2 separate regions of the Homo sapiens genome follow, and region 2 is linked to region 1. Evidence: promoter capture Hi-C in human tissues and cell types (Jung and others, 2019). All regions are on one chromosome and are shown on one strand. Each heading gives the region's core, a stretch centred on a gene start or on the middle of the fragment in contact. The rest is flanking DNA. Distances are from core to core; before and after follow the strand shown. Region 1 holds the start of PITX3 (paired like homeodomain 3). Region 2 overlaps SFXN2 (sideroflexin 2).

Region 1 (7,437 bases), core at 2,284-4,783:
AAAACAAGTCCAGCGATCTATTCCACACCCTGCTCTCCTCGCCCTCTTGTCCACCTTCCCTGTCGTGGCTTCTCACAGTTATGTCTGTCACGTCCCAACTCTGTTTCAGCGTCCTCTGCCCCACTCCCATCATCCAGAAATAGAGAAAATGGGACGTAGCAGAAGCCCTGGATATCTAATTTAAGTCTCTTCATTTTACATTATAGGAAACAGCCCCAGGGTGGAAGGCTGGGCCCATGTTCACATAATTAGTAAATAGCAGAGCAGAGAGACGAACCCCTGGGTCTCCTCACCCCCAGGCCAACTCTTTTCATCGCCTTTTGTCACCTCTTATGCCTTAGTATATCGGGCTTTGACTCCCGGTCTGCCTTTCATACCAAGCCTTTGACGGGCCTTATCCACCAGGCTAAATACGCAGCTTAGCCCACCTCATCAGTGATAGGAAACAGAAGTCTTTCTTGTTTGCCTTAGAAACGCTAAGGGGCCTGAGGGTTGGATGCCCACCTGTTTTCACTGTCTTGCCCCCAGCTGCCTCCTCCCCTTGCAAGAGATGATAGAGGTTACTAAGCTATTTAGAATTACCTGTATTACCTGGAAGTGAGAATGCGTGAGAAGAGGACAAGAGGATGGGTTTTCTCCTAGGAGACTGAATCATGAAATTCCCAGCCTATTTGGGACACTAGAGCCCCAGTGTCCCTGCAGACCTGGAGAAGCTGCTGGGAGGCAGTGAAAAAAAAATACCTAATTCTTTCCATACATCCTCCCAATTATGGACGACCCAAGTCCAGGGAAGCTCTATAACTAACCACATAGGAAAGTAGTCTCAAAACCAGACATCCAAAGACCATCCGTGTGCTACGATGCGCTATTTTTTTGTTTTGTTTTGTTTTTTTGTCTTTTGTTTGTTTGTTTGTTTTGAGAGAGTCTTGCTTTGTCATCCAGGATGGAGTGCAGTGCTGTGATCTTGGCTCACTGCAACCTCCACCTCCTGGGTTCAAGTGATTCTCCTGCCTCAGCCTCCCAAGTAGCTGGGATTACAGGCATCTGCCACCACACCAGGCTAATTTTTGTATTTTTAGTAGAGATGGGGTTTCACCATGTTGGACAGGCTGGTCTCGAACTCCTGACCTCAGGTGATCCACCCGCCTCAGCCTCCCAAAGTGTTGAGATTACAGGTGTGAGCCACCACACCTGGCCACGATGCTCTAGTGTAAAGCACCCATCAGATATCAGACGTGAAGAACCCCTCAGTAACTTCCTACACCTGCACATTGGGCTTCTGGTCGGTGGGTCCAGCTGAGGATCTAGCCTCTATCACCCAAAGAGAGTCAGGGAAAGAGGATATACCATCATAGCACCTCTTTCCACATTACCTCAAAGCCATTTTCCTCTTCATTTGAAAACTGAGAGTTGGTGTCCTGGGCCTGTCTCAGATTGAGAGGTCCTGGAAAGCCGATTGGAAAATCCTCTAAGTGGGCCAAAAATTTCTGCTCGCCAATATCTACTTCTACATACCTCCAGAAATTCATCATTCTAAAAGCATGTGATTGTGCAATAGAGATGGGGAGGAGAGAGATGACAATTCCCTAGTCCCTCCTAACCACTAATCATCATCTTACCAGGCAGAACATCTTCCTCATAGATTTCAGTGTGACATTTATTGAGATTCTACATTATGCCTGGGAATAACAGACATGGTCCTTACCCTCCTAAATTTTATTATCATAGCAGACAACACATAAGCTGATCCCTTCAATATGGTGGGTGGTGTAATAGAAGGTATACACTGAGGGTCATGAGAGCAAGGGGCTAAACTGAGAGTTCAGAAAAGGCTTCCCAGAGAAAATAAGACTTGAGTGGAACATTGGAGGAGTAGGAATTGACAATATAAAGATGGGTTACTTTCACAGGAAGGGCCAGAGGTGTGCAGGACACTACTAGGAAATTGGAGATGAAGACAAGGTCAGGTCCTGAAGGTCTTGTATGCCAGGCTAGGGAGCTTGACCTTTATCCTAAGGGCAATGGGAGTCACTGAACAGTCAAGACATGACTGCTCAGATTTGCCTTAGGGGCATATTGTGTGACTGGGCTTAGGCTCTTTTTTTTTTTTTTTTTTGAGACAGAGTCTTGCTCTGTCGCCCAGTCTGGAGTGCAGTGGCGCGATCTCAGCTCACTGCAAGCTCTGCCTCCTGGGTTCACGCCATTCTTCTTCCTCAGCCTCCCCAGTAGCTGAGACTACAGGCACCCGCCACCAAGCCCGGCTAATTTTTTGTATTTTTTAGTAGAGATGGGGTTTCACCGTGTTAGCCAGGGTGGTCTCAATCTCCTGACCTTGTGATCCGCCCGCCTCGGCCTCCCAAAGTGCTGGGATTACAGGCATGAGCCACAGTGTTTGGCCTGGGCTTAGGCTCTTCGGAGCACCCAAGCAACATAGCCTAACTGGGAGAAGAGAAGGAGCCTGTTTCCTGGAAATTGAGGCCTAAGTCAGAGAGGGCCGAAGTCACAGTCTGCCAGGATGTTCCTTGGTCATCTGTCCTGTCCCTTGCAAATTCCTAACCAGCAGGCACCAAGGCCACACCTTGCCCACAGGACTTAACCTGGTACCACCAGCGGGAAACCAGCCCTGCTGAAGGAGGGAGAGCACAGCCTAAGCAAGACAAGGGTACAGACTGAAAGGCAATGCCTTTGGAGTGCCCAGCCCAAGCCCTGAGATCCAGCAGGAACCTCCTCTTAATTGTTTTGCGCGGGGAGGGAGATGATAGTTACTCGTCCAAGTTCACTCAGTGATGGTGCAGTTCGTGGCAGCGTTGGAATACTACTTTGGTTTGTATCATTCCAAACCCTGCTGTCTCCACGAAGTCACCTTCCTTGGAGAAGAAGGGGGAAATGAAGAAGAGGAAAGATATGAGGAAAGAGGAGCAGAGAGAAAGAGAAATGAGTCTTTTAAAGTGGCAGAGGAAGGAGAATGGTAAACAGCAGGAGCGAAGCGGCTGAGGAGAAAGAAGAGGAAAGAAAGGCGAGACGTGGGAGGATTGGAACAGAGACAAAAGGGAGGAGAGACGGACAGCGACAAGTGGAGAAAATCGGCGAAACTTGAGTGGCAGAGAAGTCTGAGCGCTGAGACCCGGCGGCCCCGTGCGCCTTCCCACCTGGCGCCGATCCACTTTCCTCGGGGTAGCGGCCCAACCCACTTCGCTGCCAGCCGATCCCTTTTACCCGTGGCTACCGGGACCACTCTACTCTCGCCCACTTGGCTCTGCCTAAGCGTCCTAGCCGGAGCGCGGTCTCTGCCACGTGGGGAGGGGCGCGGCCGAGTTGCTGAAGAGCGCTTCTGATTGGCCAGAGGGCGGGGTTCTTGGCGTCTCGCCGGCCAGACCCCTCCCTCAAAGGCGGGGCCTGGAGATCCACAGCTGGAAAGGGCGGAGCCCCAGCAGGGCAGCTGGAAAGGGGCGGGGCCTGACGCGCGCGGCTCGCCGCGGCGGGCTGGGGGCGCCCTGGTCTGCCATAAAGTGAATGGGCGCCGGCTGGGGGTGGCAGTACGCGGTGAGGCTCACTCCCTCCGAGAGTCCAGGAGCGCCCGAGCGGAGAGGCGGCCCGGGAGCAGGGGGGCGGCCCCCACTCCGGCCGGGTGCCCGGCCCCTGGCCCCTGCCTGCCCTCTAGATCGCCGCCGCAGCCGCCGCTACTGGGAGTCTGCCTGTTGCAGGACGCACTGTGAGTGTTTGACCATTCTAAGGACAGGGGCTCATGGGGCCGAGGAGCTATTGCTGGACCTTGGAATCCCTAAAACGAGACCTGGGGCAGCTGAACTCCGGTGCCTTGGGAACAGGTCGAGAATGGGAGGGCGGACTGCAGACCTGGGGCCAGGACTTGGGAAAAGGGAAACTCAGGGTAAGAACCAGGGGATAGGGAAGGGGGAGACTCAGAGGATCCGGAACGAAGCCGGAGACTTGAAACCAGGATAGGGGCTTCGCGAGGCAGGGAGTAGGGAGTCTGGAAACCATTACCAGAAAGCGCCCTGGAATCCCAGGGCACGGGGCAGGCGGCCAGGGAGCGAAAGGGGTTACAGAGGCCCTGGCCAGCGGGGGAGCTGGCGGGGCGGCCCCCAGTGTGGGGGCAGTTGACGGCGCCCGATGCCCCTCGGCCTAGGCTCAGACTCCTGGGGCTGGGAGCCGGGGTGCGCCTGGTCGCACACGCTTCTCTTCCCAGCTGCTCCGCAGTTGGAATAGGAGCTGTGTTGTGAGAGCCCGGCCGCGACTGAGTCAGATGGCCGCTGTGCGGATCAGAGTGACCAGGCGGCGGGTATAGTGGATCTGGCTTGGGGTGTCTGGGCCCAGAAGGGTCCTGACTTGAGGCCGCCTCAGAATCGGACAGAATGTCCGCGGTGCATGGGGCTCGGAGCGGACAGAATGTCCGGGTAGCGAAGTGGGTCTCTCCGGAGCGGGAGTTGTGTCTGGCAGTGGCGGACAGAATGTCCCTGGCTGGGTGGCATGTCCGTCTACCCAGCAGCGCCTGCCCAGCTGCTGCGTGTGCGATGGGGTCGGCTGCGGTGGGTCACCTCAAATCCCAGCTCACACTTTGCAAACTTGTTTCAGCTCCTTCGGGCTGCGAAGCTGTGAGCAGGGAGCGAGAGTAAAGGCTACAACCTGGCCTTGGGGTGAGGTGGGCTGGGACACATGCCCCCTTCAATTCAGAATAGATCAGAGCATCACTCTGTACTTCCAGAATCCAAATTTGAGGACAGAAGGCCAATGAGGAGCCTGCTAGTGGGAATCAAGACCAGGAAAGGAAGGAATAGGTGACAAAAGGCAATGGGAAAACAGGAAGGAGCTGGGTACAAGCCCCTGGCAGCCTCAGTTGCCCCCTAATTCCAATACAATTAACCAGACACCCCCCAGACTCCTTGCTGGAGTATCAGGCGACCAATGGCTCCTTCCCTACAGTGGGCAGGAGCCCAGGCCAGAAGAGAAAACTACAGCCCCATTAGCAAAGCAAATCCTGTGGTCCTGTTTCCCTTTTTCTTCCTCAGCCCTACCAGTCCCAACACCACCCTGGTGGCTGAGCGGAGGTGGGAAGGAGGCTCATGGAATCCAGACTCTGGAGTCCAACAGGGGGCTATCTGGCCCTCTCAGTCTGGTTGGGAAGGATATCTTGGCCCTACCTAACAGCCGGGTTTACTTTCCCTGCAGCTGGGATACAGCCCTGACTCTGCTGGGCCCATACAGTGACCATCCACCCTGACCCCAATTCTAACCACAGCTCAATTATGCTGAAGAGGACAGAACAGGGAGAACGAGTCCATATAAGTGAGCAAGATAGCCCAGCTGGGGACTGAGTTTTCACAAGGACAAGTGCAAGGCATTGTATTTAGCAATGAGTAATCTAAACAGTGGTTTCAACCTTTCTTACCCTTCACCTGTGAGTGACATACAATACGTATTCCCCATACTCCCATGTCCATTCCTCAGTTCTAAAGTTTGCTTATTACTGGCTAGGATTCTCAACTTTTGTTTTTCATTTGCCCTATTTTGATCAATATAAAGACACACCACAATTATCCCCATCACATTCTGATACACTTTTCAGGGGCTTGTGCTCCCATTGCTGTGCTCCCATAAAATCACTGAAATTATAGGTGAAATGAAGGACTCTGTGTCAGGAAAGGAACAGGGAAAGCATTACAGATGGTTCCCTGAAGACTTTAGCTCAAAGTTGGCTTTTGCCAAAAAGGCCAAAGAGGTGGTATCATAATGAAGGTGATTGGAAACAAAAGACAGAACCTTTTCCCACCCTTGCATAAAGCCTTGTAACTGAACGCATGCCTGGTCACTGGCTCTTAGGAAGAATGTCATGGGCCTAGAGTAGGGTCAGAGAATGATTGGCAGAATGGGGAGCCAGGGGTTGCTGGTGAGGGCAAATTTCAAAGTTTAGTCCTCTGGAAGGTGAGACAGGATGGAAATCTACAGCATAATAAAAGACCTAGATATGCAGAAGAATTGCTTGCTCCCCAAATCTTGAAACTGGAGATGAGGGGGCCTTTTAGAACTGGAGTGATGCAAGCTCAGGATGAATAGAAAAATGTTCTTTGGCACACAGTGGGCAGCATACTTCCAGAGCTCATTTCCAGAGAGATGATAGAGGCAGGAAGTAGAAATGGAATCCTTCAGGGTTTGGAAGGATCAGCACATGTCAGAGTCACAAATGGCTACAGGGTGGAGGGAGTGAGGCATGGAAAGAGCAGAACTAGATGGTTTGAATCTCTTCAAATCTCTTCAAACTGTGTAACCTTGCATCCTGCCTTCTTAGAGGTGTAATGGGGATAGGCACTCCAGCCATGCAGGGCAGTTGTGCGAGTTAAATGAAATTATGTCTGTGAAGGCCCTCTGCAAATGGAGGAGCATCATATAAATAAGAAGCACTGCTATTATTATGCCCAAGCTGCAGAATCTTTGTTTGGAAAAGTGGGGCTGAGACTTAGAGCAGCCTAATCTCATCCCTGATGCAGCCATAGGAGGGATCTTAATGACAGACGGGCCACCCTATCGTGGACTTCAGATGCTGGCCACTACCCCTGCCGCTGTCTGAGAACTCTGGGGAGCTCCCCAAATGCTCAGCCTGTCTACCAGGCCAAATATCTCTGCCTGCCTCCTGCTCAGGGATGGGAACATTGGCCCAGGACTCAGGTTCAGGACGGGAGGGCAAACGCAGCAGGCTAGAGCTGACTTGTGGTGACTGAAGGATGGGGCCAGTAGAATCTTTTCTTCTCCATTCACACTAAATGATGCCTCCTAGACTAACCTGAAGGATCCATTAGGTCCTGAGCTTTGGGGTGTCTAGGGTGTCCATGGCCACTGCCAGGGACTCATGAAAAGAATGATGGGGAGGAAAAGGAAAAGATCATCAGTGGGGTAAGAGTTGGGGGAAGACAGAGAGGAATAACTTTCAAAACTCTATCTCTCCTTTCCCATTGTCCTGCCCCGGGGCCTTTTTTACACCTTTCAGTTAATAGTTTCTCCTTTCCTATTTCTTCCCTGCCCAACCCTTTATGCTCACCATGGTCAAATAAAGGTCACAAAGATGCTGTTTTTTGTCACACCCCTGGATACAAGCCTCCAGTGACCCCTACTGCTTGGTGCATTGCTTCTCATAGTGGGGTGGGCGGGGGAGGAGGGCAGTACGGGAGTGGAGGAGGCATGACACACAGTCTAAACAGGGCCCATCTTCCTGGTGTGGTGATATCACTTGAAGATTGGGGGGTTTTATATTAAAAAAAGCTTTATTTTTATATTAAAATATTTTATAATCCATGACTAAAGTATGGAATAGAACGAAAAATTTGTTTGCATTTTTAACATAAAGCTGGTGACCTCAAAACAATTTCATACTAGTGGCAGCTGTTTCAGGTCATGCTTCTGTTTTCTAGTAGATGTTGTTTTTGA
Region 2 (7,437 bases), core at 2,224-4,723, 480 kb before region 1:
TGCAGTGGTGTGATCATGGTTCAATGCAACTATTACCTCCCAGGTCAGCCTCCTGAGTAACTGGGACTACAGGCACATACCACCACCCTGGCTAATTTTTGTATTTTTTTGTAGAGATGGCACCTCGCTATGTTGCCCAGGCTGGTTTCAAACTCCTAGGTTCAAGCAATCCTTCTGCCTCGGCCTCCCAAAGTGCTGGGATTACAGGTGTGAGCTGCCGCATCTGGCCTGTTTTATTATTTAGAGACAGAGTCTCATTATTTTATCCAGGCTGGAGTGAATGGTAATTGACAGGCATGATTATAGCTCACTGCAACCTCGAACTCCTGGGCTCAAGCAATCCTCCAACCTCAGCCTCCCAAGTAGCTGGGACTACAGGCATGCACTATCATGCCCAGCCCTTTTATTCTTCTCAACAAGGTCTACCCTTGAGGGAAACTATTTTACCAGAGCCTAACCATCTTGGGTTGTACCAGAACTTAAGTGACTTGGGGAAAGAGAACTCCAGCCACCTCTTGCCTTCCTGCCTCACCTAAAGAGGACAAGGGGAGGCTGAGAAGCTCTTGTGAAGGTTCAGGGGCACAGGCTCCCCAGAAGACTGAGACCTCATCACAGGACTGTAGATCCTCCACTCCCTCACCTCACCACTGCACCAGCAGGGCTCCTGTATCATTACAAGGATTATAACAAAAAGAGTAACAAGTCTTAGGCCCTATTTAAGAAGTCTCTAGAGACCCATAGACAGCAAGGGAGATAAGAACAAGGACACCAGAAGAAAATTTAGCCTTTTATACCTATAGCTACAGCAAACAGTAAACATAGCCTAGATAAACAAAACCTCACCCCTCAGTTCCTCTCACAGGGTACATCATGTCCAGCTTTCAGTGAAAAATTACAAGGCATACTAAAAAGAAAAAAAAAAAAAACGCAGTTTGAAGAAACAGGCCAAGTATCAGAATCAGATTTAGATATGAGATTTTAGAATTATCAGACCAGGAATTTTAAATAACTATGGTTAAAATTAATTAATTAATTAATTACAACGATGGTTAATATTCTAAGGACTCTGAAGGGAAAAGTGGACAACAGACAAGAACAGACAAATAACATAAGCAGTGATGGAAAATCTTTTTTTTTTTGAGACGGAGTCTTGCTCTGCCACCAGGCTGGAGTACAATGGCACGATCTCGGCTCACTTCAACCTCTGCCTCCCGTGTTCAAGTGGTTCTCCTGCCTCAGCCTCCCAAGTAGCTGAGACTACAGGCGTGCACCACCATGCCCAGCTATTTTTTGTATTTTTAGTAGAGATGGGGTTTCACCATGTTAGCCAGGATGGTCTCGATCTCCTGACCTCGTGATCCGCCCACCTCGGCCTCCCAAAGTGCTGGGATTACAGGCGTGAGCCACCACGTCCAGCCGGAAACTCTTAAGAAAGAATCAAAAGGAAATGTTGGAAATCAAAAATACTGTAACAAAGATGAAGAAAGTCTTGGATGGACTCATCAGTAGACTGGACATGGCCAGGGAAAGAATCAGTGAGCCTGAACACGTGTCAGTAGAAATTGTCCAAATGCAAAAGGCCCATCCATGGCAGACTGGATAAAGAAAATGTGGTATATGTACACCATGGAATACTATGCAGCCACAAAAAAGAACGAGATCACGTCCTTTGCAGGGACATGGATGAAGATGGAGGCCATTATCCTTAGCAAACTAATGCAGGAACAGAAAACCAAATATCACATTTATAAGTAAGAAAACCAAATATCTCACTTAAAAGTGGGAGCTAAATGATAAGAACACATGGACACAAAAACGGGAGCAACAGACCCCACTGGGGCTCACTTGAGGGTGAAGGGTGGGAGGAGGGAGAGGATCAGAAAAAATAACTAATGGGTACTAAACTTAGTAGCTGGGTGATGAAACAATCTGTACAACCCCAGTGACACAAGTTTACCTATGTAACAAACCTGCACGTGTACCCCTGAATCTAAAGTAAAAGTTAAAACAAAAAAAAGAAACAAATAATATTAATGCAATTATACTAATAGAAGGGCTTGGACTCAGATCCTCCATACACAAATTCTGTCTCTCATTGAGAAACACTGAGTCTGTGGTGGTAGGGATGGTGTGGGAATGTTGGTCTTCCTAGATCATTGGAATTACTATTTGGGGATGCATACCATCTGATTCTGTTAGTCGTTACCCATTTCCACCTATCCCATATCTTACAGAAGAATCATCTCAAGTACTAACTGCTTTATATCCCTTAAAACATTTCTAGTTGGGGCCAGGCGCAGTGGCTCACACCTGTAATCCCAACACTTTGGGAGGCCGAGGCGGTTGGATCACCTGAGGTCGGGAGTTTGAGACCAGCCTGACCAAGACGGTGAAACCCCATCTCTACTAAAAATACAAAAATTAGCCGGGCGCAGTGGCAGGTGCCCGTTATCTCAGCAATTCGGGAGGCTGAGGCAGGAGAATCGCTTGTACCTGGGCAGCAGAGGTTGCAGTGAGCCGAGATCACGCCACTGCACTCAAGCCTGGGTGACAGAGTGAGACTCTGTCAAAAAAAAAAAACAAAACTTTCTAGTCGGCCAGGCATGGTAGCTCACATCTGTAATCTCAGCACTTTGGAGGCCAAGGCCGGTGGACCACCTGAGGTCAAAAGTTTGAGACCAGCCTGGCCAACATGGTGAAACCTCATTTTGTATTTTTTTTTCTACCAAAAAATAGAAAAATTAGCCAGGTGTGGTGGTGCACACCTGCAGTCCCAGCTACTGGGGAGGCTGATGTGGGAGGAATGCTTGAGCCCAGGAGGCGGAGGCTGCAGTGAGCCAAGATCAAGCCACTGCACTCCAGCCTGGGTGACAGAGTAAGACCCTGTCTCAAAAAAAAAAAAAAAAAAAAAAAAGGACTTTCTTGGACAAACAAAACAGGAAATTTGTCACTGGCAGACCTGACTTACAAGATGTTAAAAGAAGTTCTTCTGGTCAGGTGGGATGGTTCACACCTATAATCCCAGCACTTTGGCAGGCCAAGGCAGGAGCATCGCTTGAGCCCAGGAGTTTGAGACCAGTCTGGGCAACAGAGTGAGACCCTGTCTCTATAAAAATTAAAAAAGAAAAAAACATAGCCAGGCGTGGTTGCATGTGCCTGTGGTCCCAGCTACTTGGGAGGCTGAGGTGCGGGGACTGCTTGAGTCTGGGAGGCTAAGGCTAAGCCTGCAGTGAACTGTGATCGTGCCACTGCACTCCAGCCTGCACGACAGAGTGAGACCCTGTCTGGGAAAAAACACTAACAAACAAACAAATAAAAATCTTTATTTCTCTTATTCTGAACTGTTAACAGTTAACAAACAGATACGTTTGTTTAAAACAATAGTAGCAACAATGTATTTGGTGATTACAGTTTATGGATCAGAGAAATCCATGACAGCAGTAATATCAAGGACAGGAGGGGAGAATTGGGAGGACTCCATTCTAAGGTACTTGCACACTCCATGCAGTGGTATAGTGTTATTTGAAAGTGGATTTGGATTAGTCATAAATGTACATTGCAGACTCCTGGGCAACCACTAAAAAGGTTTTCAAAAGAAGTATAATTGATATGCTAAGAGAGGAGAGAAAATGGAGTCATACAAAAAAAGCTGACGCTTTTAAATGTTTGCCTGAAAGCTTCAGGGAGTCATTGAAAGACTTTAAGAAGAAGAGTGACAAGATCAGATATGTAGTTTACTAAGAACAAACTGGGTAGTCATGAGAATAAACAGGATGTGGATGGACCTCACGGGATGCAGGGAGACCAGCTGGACGAGAACCCCAGTAATCCAGGCAAGAAGAGGTAGGGCTCAAATGAACCCACGTGCACTCAGAGGAGAGACCAACAGGAGAGAATCTTTCAAAGAAGCGGAATGTTAAGGTCTGCTAAGCAATAGGTATAAGAGGAACATTTTATCAGTCAAGGTTCAACCAGAGAAGCAGAATCAGTAGATTACAGACAGACAGACAGGTAGATACCAAAACATAACATGGGGCAACATGGAGTTCCTCTAACTCCTGAGCTCAAGCAATCTGCCTGCCTTGGCCTCCCAAAGTGCCAGGATTACAGGTGTGTGCCACTGCACCTGGCTATGACACACACATATACATATTTTATATATTTCTAAAATATATTTGTATACTATAATATATATTTTCTAAATATATAAATTATATAACTATATAAATATATAATTTTTTAAATTTATAGATATAGCAACATATATTTATAATATATAAATTTATATATACATTTATTTATATAGACATGAATTACGTTTAAATATAACATATAAAAATAATATATAAACATAAATAATTCATATAGCTATATAAAATCATATATAAATATATAACTTTATATGTTATAAATATATGTTGATCTATCTATATAGATTTTATAATTTTTTCTTCTTTTTTTAGGCAGGGTCTCAGCTGGTTGCCCAGGGTAGAGTGGAGTGGTGCAATCATAGCTCACTGTAATCTCAAACTCCTGGGCTCAAGGAATCCTCCCATCTCATCCTCCCTAAGTGCTGGGATTACAGGCATGCACCACTCCTGGCCTAAATATATATAATGCTGACGTAATATAATATTGATAAAATATAGAAATTGATTTATCACAAGGAATTAGCGAATTGGCTCACATAACTGTGGCTGTTGGCTAGGCAATCCTGAAGTCAGCAGGGCAGGCGGCCAGCAACAGACCATCCCAGGGGAGAGGGAGCAACGCGGGTAATGGCTCAGAGTCCAGAACCTCAGAGGGGGTTCAGGGGTGTTCTAGCCCTCCTTTAAAGGGCTTCCACCTGATTAGGTCAGGCCACCCAGGATAATCTCCCTTTTGATTAACTTAAAGCCAAACAATTGAGGAATTTAATTAGGTCTGCAAAATCCCCTCACAGCAGCACCTAGATTACTGTTTGTCTGAAGAGCTGGAAGATGGTGTGTGTGTGCTCCTGGGTAGCCACTATAACTGGAATATACCAGAGAGGGAATCCCGGGAGTCTTGCTTAGCTTAGCCAAGTTGACACATGACAAATATCCAGAGTGATACCTAGGGTTTCTGACTTGGGCGATAGGTGCTAACAGGGAGAGCACAGAAAAATTGGCTTTGAGGGAGAAAATATTAATAGTAAGCTTGATTTCTGCATGTTAAGTTTCAAATACCATGGGATTTTTTTTTTTTTTTGAGACAGGGTCTTGCTCTGTTGCCCAGGTGGGAGTACAGTGGTATGATCATGGCTCACTACTCCAGCCTCCACCTCCCAGGCTCAAACGATCCTCTGACCTTAGCCTCTCAAGTAGCTGGGACCACAGGCATGTGCCAACATGCCCGGCTAGTTTTTGTATTTTTTGTAGAGACAGGGTCTCCCTATGTTGCTAGGCTGGTCTCAACTCCTGAGCTCAAGGGATCTACCTGCCTCAGCCTCCCAAAGTGCTGGGATTACAGGAGTGAGCTACCAGCCCCGGTCCTGCCATGGGTTTTTTTTTTTTTTTTTTTTTTTTTTGAGAGGGAGTCTTGCTCTGTCACCCAGACTGGAGTGCAGTGGTGCGATCTCGGCTCACTGCAACGTCCACCTCCTGGGTTCAAGCAATTCTCCTGCCTCAGCCTCCTGAGTAGCTGGGATTACAGGTGCGTGCCACCACACCCAGCTAATTGTTTGTATTTTTAGTAGAGACGCGGTTTCACCGTGTTAGCCAGGATGGTCTCGATCTCCTGACCTCGTGACCCATTACCCGCGTCGGCCTCCCCAAGTGTTGGGATTACAGGCGTGAGCCACCAAGCCCGGCCGGGATTTTCTTAAATGCAATAGGCCTCTTCCTGTCTCAGGTCCTTTCCAAACACAATACTCAAAAGCTAGTCTTTCCTCTCTTCACTAAATAGTACCTATTTGTCCTTTTATTTTTTTGTACAAATAATTTTCAGATTTACTTCTATAGCTTCTACTACTAGGTCATTTTGTTTTTTTCTTGGAAATAGCACCTTAGCTAAGTTAAATAATTCACCTGTGAAGTGAGGTGGTATGTTCATTTTGCTCACGACTGTCACCCCAGTGCCTAGCACAATATTCAAGTATTTGCTGAATAAGAAGTTCATCAGCCTGTGGGTATTCAGGCTTGAAAGGAAACAGAGGTCAGAGCTAGAAGGAAAAAACTGAGTCAGCAGCATCGAGGTGATTTACGATAAAGTTTTCCAGTGAGAACACACAGAATGGGAAGAGGAGAGAGCTGAGGACAAACCCTGAAAAATCAGGACATTTAAGAAGCCAAGGCCGGGCACAGTGGCTCACACCTGTAATCCCAGCACTTTGGGAGGCCGAGGCGGGTGGATCACCTGAGGTCAGGGGTTTGAGACCAGGCTGGCCAAGATGGTGAAACCCCATCTCTAATAAAAAAAAAAAATACAAAAATTAGCTGGGCGTGGTGGCAGGCACCTATCATCCTAGCTATTCAGGAGGCTGAGGCACAAGAATTGATTGAACCCAGGAGGCGGAGGTTGCAGTGAGCCGAGATTGTGCCACTGTACTCCAGCCTGGGCAACAGAGTGAGACTCTGTCTCAAAAAAAAAGAAGCTGAGGCCGGGCACGGTGGCTCATGCCTGTAACCCCAGTGCTTTGGAAGGCTGAGGCGGGCGGATCACGAGGTCAGGAGTTTGAGACCAGCCTGGCTAACATGGTGAAACCCTGTCTCTACTAAAAATACAAAAAATTAGCCGGGCGTGGTGGCAGGCGCCTGTAATCCCAGCTACTTGGGAGGCTGAGGCAGGAGAATCACTTGAACCCGGGAGGTGAAGGTTGCAGCGAGCCGAGATGGCGCCACTGCACTCCATCTTGGCAACATAGCAAGACCCTGTCTCAAAAAAAAAAAAAAAAAAAAAAAAGAAGCCGAGAAAAGGAAGCCCCCAAAGATGGGAAGAACCACCAGAAAGAAGAGAGAAAGGAGGTGGAGACAGGCACAGGCCTGTAATCCCAGCACTTTGGGAGGCCAGGAGTTCAAGTTCAAGAAAGGAGGCAGAAGGGACAGTGTTGGGGAAGGAAGAGCAGTGGTCAATTTTTAGATTTTTCGTTAAGGCGGAAGAGACATCAGGAAGCTGATATGCTGGAGGTACGCCATTTCCTAAGAGGAAAGACCAGGAACAAGAGGAGAGGCTCAATATGGAGTATCCACAGCGCCCTGGCCTGGCCCCGATGCTTCTCTGAAGCGGCAATCTCCAGAGAAGTCAGAAGGCAGACAGAAAGAGTCCACTGCCAAAACAGACTTCCCCTCTCCCTGCCACCTGGCCTCCTGCAGGCTGCTTCAAAGACCAAAGGCATTTATCTCAGTCCCAGCTGAAGCAAGAGTGGGAGGAGGGGAAAGAGTTCACTTTCCCATGCTCTACATGAACCTAAAAGGAGTC

The links. The method cuts DNA at HindIII sites, captures the fragments that hold promoters and counts their contacts. A contact is called where the count stands out against the background at its distance.
Region 2: a contact is called between a fragment that was not itself captured here and the fragment with the promoter of PITX3 in region 1, in 1 of the 25 tissues and cell types used here (hippocampus).

Annotation. Positions count from the first base shown.
Region 1 is chr10:102,237,608-102,245,044 of GRCh38, reverse strand. PITX3 (paired like homeodomain 3) reads left to right here and starts at 3,533. Exons shown (of 4, transcript NM_005029.4): 1 at 3,533-3,712. It also overlaps a transcript of GBF1 not described here. RefSeq lists a silencer at 3,382-3,671. The HindIII fragment of the contact is 21,724 bases long and covers 1-7,437 here.
Region 2 is chr10:102,718,403-102,725,839 of GRCh38, reverse strand. The region is part of intron 1 of SFXN2 (sideroflexin 2); the gene reads right to left. Among named protein-coding and RNA genes, the nearest start is that of SFXN2, 7.5 kb to the right of the region's middle. The HindIII fragment of the contact is 7,636 bases long and covers 1-7,291 here.